2 separate regions of the Homo sapiens genome follow, and region 2 is linked to region 1. The links are contacts of gene promoters, found by promoter capture Hi-C in human tissues and cell types (Jung and others, 2019). All regions are on one chromosome and are shown on one strand. Each heading gives the region's core, a stretch centred on a gene start or on the middle of the fragment in contact. The rest is flanking DNA. Distances are from core to core; before and after follow the strand shown.

Region 1 (4,745 bases), core at 1,081-3,580:
CTGGCCAACATAGCGAAACCCTGTCTCTAATAAAAATACAAAAATTAGCCCAGCGTGGTGGCGCACGCCTGTACAGTCCCAGCTACTGGGGAGGCTGAGGTAGGAGAATCCCCTGAACCTGGGAGGCAGAGGTTGCAGTGAACCGAGACCACACCATTGCACTCCAGCCTGGGCAACAGAGTGAGCCTCCATCTAAAAAATAATAATAAAATAAAAACACTCAATCCCCTAGAAAAAATAGTGCATCAGTGGTTATGAGAACCTACTAAGGACAAGACCCATCTTTGACAATGAAAGGGGCCTTAGGACTTACTTCCCTTTTTTTTTTTTTTTTGAGACAGTCTCGCTCTGTCGCCTAGGCTAGAGTGCAGTGACACAATCTTGGCTCACTGCAACCTCCGCCTCCTGGGTTTAAGCAATTCTCCTGTCCCAGCCTCCCAAAGTAGCTGGGATTACAGGCATGTGCCACCACGCCCAGCTAATTTTTGTATTTTTTAGTAGAGATGGGGTTTCACCATATTGATCAGGCTGGTCTCGAACTTCTGACCTCACGTGATCCAACTGCCTTGGCCTCCCAAAGTGCTGGCATTACAGGCATGAGCCACCGCACCCAGCCTGACTTAGCATTTTGGAGTGGAGGCCGATCATGGTGATGGAGAAGGAAATCAGGGACAGATCTACACCATTTGTTTGCTATTTACTGCACGTAAACAGAATGAAATCAACACATTAAGTATTTCACTTGATTTCATCCACCATCTCCTGCAGACAACCAGGTTTCTCCCAAATTCATGTGCCTGGAAATGGCTTGAACCAAATGGTTCATGAGGAAAACCTGTGATATTTTTCATGAAATCGCCACATCTGGGCATCAGGAAAGCCTTCCCCGAGAATGTCTCAAATTGGTCAGCCGTTTTCTCTTTTTTTAGACAGGTAGGTGTCCCCAAGCATTCAATCCTAGCTAAAATATGGAAGTATTTATCTAGCACAGGAGCCTATGGCATAGTTTCAGTCCACTGTCTGGCAGACCTCATCTGGGCTGTCTTTGTGTGATTTGACTGGCCAGTAAATGGGGTATAAACTATGTAGGCTGTGGCCTGGCCTTGTGACAGAGGGGTCCCTGGAACTTGACTGCCACTCCCTAAGAGCAGAAACCGCCTCTTTCTTGTACATTGCTGGATCCCATCATCCTGCACAGTGCCTGGCTACAGGTGGCCAGCAATAAAACACAAGATTGGGGCAGGCACAGTGGCTCACGCCTGTAATCCCAGGACTTTGGGAGGCTGAGATGGAAGGATCACTTGAGGCCAGGAGTTCAGGCCCAGCCTAGGCAACATAGTGAGCCTATCTCTACAAAAAAAAAATTTTTTTTAAATTAATAAAACACAAGATTGGTTTGTGTGGTGAGACAGTATTGAATCCAACAAACGGGAACTGGATAGTGTGGCCCAAGATGCAATGGTGGCTGCAGCATGAGACCCTTATGCATATAATATTCAGTGGAAGAGGTGCCAGGCACTGTTCTGGGTGCTGAGAATAAAGCTATGCATAAGACTAAGGTTCTGTCGACAGAGATCGTGTCACACCAGTGGAAAAGACAGTCATCAAACTTATATCCTTGAGTCAGTGATGAGTTCTAGAAGGAAAGAAAAGGCTGATGTGACAGTGAGGAAGGGATGAGTGGAGACTTCTCTGAGACTTCAGTGATTCCTCTTCCTCTGAGCTGAGCCAAGCTGAGAAGCTGAGAAGAGTAAGATAGGGCCGGGAACTCAGGTCCGTTAGTCCGTCCTCCGAGGTGGGGCGGGCCAGCAGAATGGATTTCCGATCTACTCTGTGAGAGCCTCGCCCAAGAAAGCCCAGAGCCACTTCCAAGATCCGCGCTCCCACGGCGATGAGAAGCGTTTTCCCCCGGGACTGCTTGGCTTAGGACTGGGGACCCACTGGCTTTGGAGTAAGCCCTGGCACGGGCCTCGAGGGAAGAAAGAACTCCCGCGCTCCCCACACTCCACAGGGCCTGCGATCATCTCAGATGTTCCGGTTCCACGTGCAGAAACCCCGCCGGTCCGAGGCCCCGGTTCTAAAACGGCCCTAAGAGTCAAGGCTTCCACAGCTCGCCTCTGAGGGTGGCAAAGAGGCCGCGGGGGCGGTGCCTCGCGAGACCCAAACAAGCCCACGTGGCAGGGGCGGGGCTCCGCGAAGGCGTCACGGCGCGCTCGTGCGCTGCTGAGGTCACGCGCCGGCAGTACCCTTGCCCGGGGGCCGTAAAGCGCGGAAGGTCGCGGTCTCGGCTTCCCCGGAACTTTTTGCTCGCTTCGCCCCGCCCCCTTCCCATCCCCGAACCCCGCTTTCCGGCCCGCGGCGACCCCAGGCAACTGTTGTGGCTGCCGCATTGCTCCCGCCGGGCTGTAGCTGAGCGCGGAGCCCGTGGGGACCGGTGAGGTAAGGAGATAGCTTCGGGGCAACTCTGGCCTCCCCGTCCGCGCGGGCCTAAGCGCCCCGGGACCCCTGGGTTCCCCTCTTTCTCCTTTGGTTTCGCCCGGGGGTGGTCCCCGCTAGCTCACGCTTCCAGTGGGTTCCGCCTGGCCTCTCGCGAAGTCGCGTCCGGGCGCCAGTACTCGTCCCCGTAAGGTTGTCCGCTCGTGCCTTGGCTTGTGTTCTCGGCTACCCCTGGGCGTGCGCACCGCTCCTCCAGGAGCCTGCACTTCAGCCCCGATGCCAGGGCGGCCGGGGTGACCTCGGGCTCCCCCGTCTCGGGCTTGCACACCCCTGCGGCGCAGAGCCAACTCCAGCTTGTCTAGCCCGGTCCTCCATCCCTGCAGATGGAACTGTTTTCCCGCGTTGAGACGTGCGGTCCGCTTGTGCTTTTAGAACTAAAGACTGCTGCAGAGTCCGGAGGAAGAAGTCACCTAGAAAAATCTGGGACAGGGCAGTAAGCTTCCTTCTTAATGTTTGACCTTTGGGGGCCGATGTGTGATACCTCGGATTTGAATCAAGAATCTCCAAGCCCATTTTCCGCATGCATGTAAACGTGATGTACCGGGATGGGGTCTGGTGGTGGAGGAGGAGCCAGCCTGACGGATAAGCTTTTCCAGTGGCAGGGACTTGTGTTAATTTCTTTTTTCTTTTTTTTTCTTTTTTCCGAGACAGAGTTTCACTCTGTCGCCCAGGCGGGAGTGCAGTGGCGCGATCTCGGCTCACTGCAACCTCTGCCTCCTGGGTTCAAGCAATTCTCCTGCCTCAGCCTCCCAAGTAGCTGGGAATACAGGTGTGCGCCACCACGCCCGGCTAATTTTTGTGTTTTTAGTAGAGACGGGGTTTCACTATGTTGGCCAGGCTGGTCTCGAACTCCTGACCTCGTGATTCTCCCGCCTCAGCCTCCCAAAGTGCTGGGATTACAGGCGTGAGCCACTGCGCTCGGCCAACTTGTGTTAATTTCTTAAACTTGCGTGATCACCTGGTGTACTTGTTGAAAAATACAGCTCCCTGGAGTGGCAGGATCAGAATCTGCCGAGGTGGACCGTGGGAATCTGTCATTTTTAAACAAGTGTCCCAGGTGGTTCTTTTGCTGAGGCAAGTGTGGGAAATGTTGTGTGAACCCACGCTCATCCAGTCTTCCTTGTGACCGGCAGTCCACTGTGCGCAACGCTGCAGCCATACAGAGGGACAACTCGAAGTTAGAACTAGCACCTTGGTCTTGTTGGAATAAGCAGATCTGAGTAGAGCCAGCTGCAGTCTTATGGTTGTTTAGCAGAAGTTATTCTTCTTAGCAGAGAATATTATACGGTCATTTTCCAGAACTGTAAAAACTCTATCATTTGTTTTAAACCAGATGATGTGCTTCATTTCTGTCTTTGACGTCTTCAGTTTCTTCTCCCCTGGCTTTACCTCCTTTGTTATCAGTTTGTGCTTTGGTTTTGCTGCCAACCTTATAGGTTTAGGTTTGGCGGCAAAGGCACTAGACTCTGGTGCCTTCTTTTCCTTCGTTGTCTTAAGCCCTTCTTTTCCTCTGCCCTCATGCCCTCACCACTTCACTCTTTTGAAGGTCATAATGAACACAAGGTCAGAGATCCCTTTTTTGGCGCCAAGCACCCTGGGCTTTTTTGAGATGGAGTCTCACTGTGTCACCCAGGCAGTGGCGCGAATCTGCCCACTGCAGCCTCCATCTCCCTGGTTGAAGCAATTTTCCTGTCTCAGCCTCCTGAGTAGCTGGGACTACAGGTGCAAGCCACGACACCTGGCTAATTTTTCTGTTTTTAGTAGAGACGGGGTTTCACCATGCTGATCAGGCTGGTCTCAAACTCCTGACCTCAAATAATCCACCCACCTTGGCCTCCCAAAGTGCTAGGATTACAGGTGTGAGCCCCTGCGCCTGGCCTTTCTTTGTTTTGTTTTGTTTAAGACAGAGTCTCACTGTGTCACCCAGGCAGGAGTGCAGTAGCATAATCTCGGCTCACTGCAACCTCTGTCTCCCAGGCTCAAGCGATCCTCCTACCTCAGGAGTTCAGGACCAGCCTGGGCAACATAGTGAGCCCCTCTCTACAAAAAAAAAAAAAAAATTAAAAAAATTAATAAAACACAAGATTGGCCTGTGTGGTGAGAGAGTATTGAATCCAACAAACGGGAACTGGTTAGTGAGGCCCAAGATGCAATGGTGGCCGCACCATGAGTACCTGGGACCACAGGTGCGTGCCACCACACCCAGCTAATTTTTTGTATCTTTGGTAGAGACGGGGTTTCACCATGTT
Region 2 (5,202 bases), core at 262-2,761, 330 kb before region 1:
CATTGGGAGGTCTCCCAGACTCTTTTAGGGTTTTGCAAGGTTAAAACTCTTTTCTTTTTCTTTCTTTCTTTCTTTTTTTTTTTTTTTTTTTTTTTTTGAGACGGAGTCTTGCTGTCATCGCCCGGGCTGGAGTGCAGTGGCATGATCTCGGCGCACTGCAACCTCTGACTCCTAGGTTCCAGCAATTCTCCTGCCTCAGCCTCCCAAGTAGCTGAGATTAGAGGCGCCCACCACCATGCCCGGTTAATTTTTGTATTTTTAGTAGAGACGAGGTTTCACCATGTTGGTCAGGCTGGTCTCGAACTCCTGACCTCAGGTGATCCACCCGCCTTGGCCTCCCAGAGCGCTGGGAATACAGGCGTGAGCCACTGTGCCTGGCCGAAATTATTTTCATAATGACATTAACACTTTGCCTTTTCACTGTGATCCCATTCACACCAATGTTCCAGAAGCAAAGGTGAGTAAAGCAGTTGGTGCTAGCACCAATTGGGCTGTTGCTGTGGTCATGGTATCCTTCACCACACATACTCTCAGTATAAAGAAAAGAAAAAGCCAGGTTCGCCTGAGAATGTCCTTGATGAAGTGGTAAAATTCATTAATTTTATGAAGTCTTGACTCCTGAGCACGTGTTTTTAATATTCTGTGTGCTGAAATGGGCAGTACTCCAAAAGCTCTTCTGCCGCCTGTTGAAGTATAATGGTGTGTTGGGAAAAAGCACGGTTGTTTGAATTGAGAGCTGAATTAATTGCTTTTTGGGTGAAGTACCATTTTTACTTAAACATCTAACAGACAAATGTGTTACTAGATTTGGGTATTTGGCAAGCCTTTTCTTGAAAACGAATGAAGTGAGCCCGACACTTCAAGGAAAACAACACAGTATTTGTTACCAATGATAAAATATGAGTTTTTTTTTTTTTTAAAGAAAAGAAAGAGTGGTCGAGTGCAGTGGTTCACACCTGTAATCCCAGCACTTTGGGAGGTTGAGGCAGGCGGATCACTTGAGGTTAGGAGTTCGAGACCAGCTTGGCCAACATGGCGAAACCCCATCTCTACTAAAAATACAAAAATTAGCCAGGTGGTGCTGGTGCCTCTAATTCCAGCTACCCATGAGGCTGAGGCACGAGAATCACTTCAACTTGGGAGGTGGAGGCTGCAGTGAGCCGAGATTGTGCTACTGTACCACTCCAGCTTAGGTGTGTGAGACTGTCTCAAAAAAAAAAAAAAGACAAAAGACAAGGTAGTAGAGATGATGGAAGGAGGGAGGAAGGGGAGCGGATATGAGTTTTTAAGTGAAAGGTTTTAAGGGAAAGTTAGACTTTTGGAATGCTTTTATCTACTACCAAGAGCTCAATGGCTTCCCAATGCTTAAAGACTTGTCTGATGAGATCAGTGGTGACATTCACAAATGTGATTTTTGGATATTGCATAATGAAATGTGTCAACATTTGGAAAATCTGCAGAACTCAATGAACCAATATTTTTCAAATGTCAAATGATGATATTCCAAAATCACATACAAGTAAAAGATCCATTCAAAGTACAAGATAGACTTGCTTCTAGCCAAGACGGAATGACAGGGACACCTCATGGCGAATGATGCTGCACATCTTTTTTTTTTTTTTTTCGAGACAGAGTCTTGCTCTGTCACCCAGGCTGGAGTGCCATGGCACAGTCTCGGCCCACTGCAACCTCCACTTCCCGAGTTCAAGCGATTCTCCTGCCTCAGCCTCCCGAGTAGCTGGGATTACAGGCACCCACTACCACGCCCGACAAATTTGTTGTTTTTTAGTATAGATGGGGTTTCATCATTATGGCCAGGCTGGTCTTGAACTCCTGACCTCAGATGATCTACCTGTCTTGGCCTCCCAAAGTGCTGGGATTACAGACCATGAGCCACTGCACCCAGCCTACCCATTTAAATAATTGTATTAGTTGTCTTCTTTTTCTCTTTCCTTTTTTTTTTTCTTGCATTATACTTTTAGCAAGGATTACTGTCAGATTCTACTCATTTGGCCAGAGACCCTCCTTGAGGTGTTTGCAGCAAACTTGCTCTACAGCTAGCACACTAGATTAGCTGTCTTTCTGCTGTGAATCTGTGATGTTCTTTTTGGAGATGTCTTTTTTTTTTTTTTCTTCTTTTTTTGAGACAGAATCTTGCTCTGTTGCCCAGGCTGGAGTGCAGTGGCACGATCTCGGCTCACTGCACCCTCCACCTCCCGGGTTCAAGCAATTCTCTGCCTCACCCTCCTGAGTAGCTGGGATTACAGGCACCCACCACTATGCTTGGCTAATTTTTTTGTATTTTTAGTAGAGATGGGATTTCATCATCTTGGCCAGACTGGTGTTGAACTCCCAACCCTGTAATCCACCCGCCTCCCAAAGTGCTGGGGATTACAGGCATGAGCCACTGCGCCCAGCCAATCTTTTTTTTTTTTTTTTTTTTTTTTTTGAGATGGAGTTTCGCTCTTGTCACCCAGGCTGCAGTGCAATGGCCGATCTTGGCTCACTGCAACCTCCGCCTCCTGGGCTCAAGTGATTCTCCTGCCTCAGCCTCCAGAGTTGCTGGGATTACAGGCATGCAGCACCATGCCTGGATAATTTTGTATTTTTTAGTAGAGACGGGGTTTTGCCATGTTGGTCAGGCTGGTCTCAAACTCCTGACCTCAGGTGATCTGGCCATCTCGGCCTCCCAAAGTGCTGGAATTACAGACGTGAGCGACCATGCCTGGCAGAGGTGTCTTAGTAGACTCTGCCTCCTCTAGACTTTGCTATAACAGTCCTGTGTCCTTTCTAGTCTATCCTAAGACCTGTCCAGGTTCATTAAGTCATTATAAGACAAACTATACCCTGGTTGCAGTTGCTTGGACGTTTCTATTTTCTTGCCTGTTTCTTTAAGCTTAAATATTGAAATTGAGTTAAACTCCTCTGTCTTCTTATCAGATATTCTCTGAATTCTTTTTTCTGTTTGTCTTACAGCTTCACGGTGATGATATGGCATCTGCCAGCTCTAGCCGGGCAGGAGTGGCCCTGCCTTTTGAGAAGTCTCAGCTCACTTTGAAAGGTGAGTGGCACTGTATAATGTCTTCATCTTGTCTACGCCCAGGGAAGAGGGAGAATCTAACCACACCTTGGTCTGGGGAGCCAAATTTTGTGAAATAGTTTACATGTGTTAATTATTTATTCTCATGGGATTGTCATCTTGTAGCTGTAATTCTTGAAGAAGAAAGAAAATAAAGGAGCAGGAAAATAGGGAACTTTTAGCTAAAATTGTCTAAAATGGTGATTTCAGGCCAGGTGCAGTGGCTCACGCCTGTAATTCAGCACTTTGGGAGGCTGAGGCAGGAGGATCCCTTAAGCCCAGAGTTTCAAGACCAGCCTGGGAAACATAGGGAAGCCCTGTCTCTACAGAACATAAAATAATTAGCCAGGCATAGTGGTGCATGCTAGCTGGTCCCAGCTACTAAGGACACTGAAGTGGGAGGATCGCTTGAGCCTGGGAGTTCAAGGCTGCAGTGAGCTGTGATCACACCACTGCACTCAGCCTGGGCAACAGGGTGAGACCCTGTCCCAAAAACAAATTAAAATAAAAACTGAATAAAATAAAATGGTGACCTGTTCATGCCCTAGGGCTCGTTGCTACCTGCACTCGCTCCCTAGGTGCTTCTTCCAACCTCTGGCTTTAAATGCCACCAATAGAAGATCACTCCTCTGGGCTTTACCTCTGAACTCCTGATTTATAACCAGTAGCCAGTTTGTTACCTTCACTTGAATATTTAGTAAACATCTAAAATTTAGCCTGTCTATAGCTGAGGTCCTGGTTTTTCTTCCTCATTGTCTGTATCAACCCATCAGCGTATCTGGTTGACTCGATCTTCAAAATGTGTCACTCAACATTCAGCCACTTCTCACCACCCCTAGGTCCCAGCCTAGTCCAGGCCACCATTGTCTCCACCCTGAGTTAAGGCAGTAGCCTCCTGTCCTGTCTCTCGGCTTCTGCACTTTGCCCTCCTTCAGTCTGTTGGTCACACAGCAGCCAGTGATCTTGTTAAAAGGTAAACTGGGGCCAGGTGTGGTGACTCATGCCTGTAATATCAGCACTTTGGGAGGCCAAGGCAGGAGGATCACCTGAGCCCAGGAGTTTGAGACCAGCCTGAGCAACAGAGCAAGACCCCCGTCTCTAAAAAAAAAAAATCAGAGGCTGAGACAGGAGGATCACTTGAGCCTAGGAGTTCGAGGCTGCAGTAAGCTGTGATTGTGCCACTGCACTCCAGCCCAGGCAACAGAGCAGAGCGAGACCATGTCTCAGAAAAAAAAATGTAAGCTGGGTCTTGTCACTCCTCTGCTCAAACCATTCAAGGGTGCTCCATTTCACAGTAGAAGCCGAAGCTCCCATGTGATGTGACCCTTCCCCACCCCACATTTCTCATCTCCTGTTCCTGGTCTACATTCTCTGTGCCCCAGCCTCCTTGCTCTTCAGTGAATACACTGGGCAGGCGTCTGCCTCTGGGCCTTTGCACTTGCTGTTCCCTCTGAGTGAAATGCTTTTCGCTTCATTATTTCCTTAGGCGTTTTCTCAAAAGCCACCCTCTTCCTGATCCCCTGATCCAACGCCACCTTTCTCATTGACTTCATCACATCTATTTCCCTCTCTTCTTTATATTTTTCTTATCAGCCCTTGTCCCTGTTTAATTAATTTATTTCATTTGTTGACTGTCTCCTTCAATAGAGTGTAAGATCCACAGTAAGAGATTTTTGTCGCTTTGGTCACTGTTAACTACCCCAGCCAGTAGAACAGTGCCTGACACATAGTGGGCCCTCAGTAAATAGTGCCTGAACGAAAGAATATTGCTTCGGGTTCCATAGCTCTGCAGCCATCACAGATGGGAGAGTGGCTCTCAGTATCTGAGCTCAGACCCCTCAGCCTGGTCCTCCAGAGGCAAAATTGTGTCTCTTGGGAATATTTTTCTTGAGTATTTTTGAAATGCAAATGTTATTTATATAATATACTCATGGAGTTTAAAAATCTTAGTTTTTAATTTTATTATTATTATATTTTGCGACAGAGTCTCGCTCTGTCGCCCAGGCTGGACTGCAGTGGCGCTGTCTCGGCTCACTGCAATTTCTTCCTCCCAGGTTAAAACAGTTCTCCTGTCTCAGCCTTCCAAGTAGCTGGGATTACCAGTGTGTGCCACCAGGCCTGGC

Evidence for each region. Contacts are between HindIII fragments. The study calls those that stand out against the background at their distance.
Region 2: a contact is called between a fragment that was not itself captured here and the fragment with the promoter of PDPR in region 1, in 1 of the 25 tissues and cell types used here (mesendoderm cells).

Annotation. Positions count from the first base shown.
Region 1 is chr16:70,112,002-70,116,746 of GRCh38, forward strand. It overlaps PDPR (pyruvate dehydrogenase phosphatase regulatory subunit), which reads left to right and starts at 2,331. Exons shown (of 19, transcript NM_017990.5): 1 at 2,331-2,439; 2 at 2,820-2,929. RefSeq lists enhancers at 2,295-2,344, 2,865-3,807. The HindIII fragment of the contact is 8,445 bases long and covers 1-4,745 here.
Region 2 is chr16:69,784,020-69,789,221 of GRCh38, forward strand. WWP2 (WW domain containing E3 ubiquitin protein ligase 2) reads left to right here. Exons shown (of 24, transcript NM_001270454.2): 2 at 2,977-3,061. The coding sequence starts at 2,992. Among named protein-coding and RNA genes, the nearest start is that of WWP2, 24 kb to the left of the region's middle. The HindIII fragment of the contact is 5,626 bases long and covers 1-4,324 here.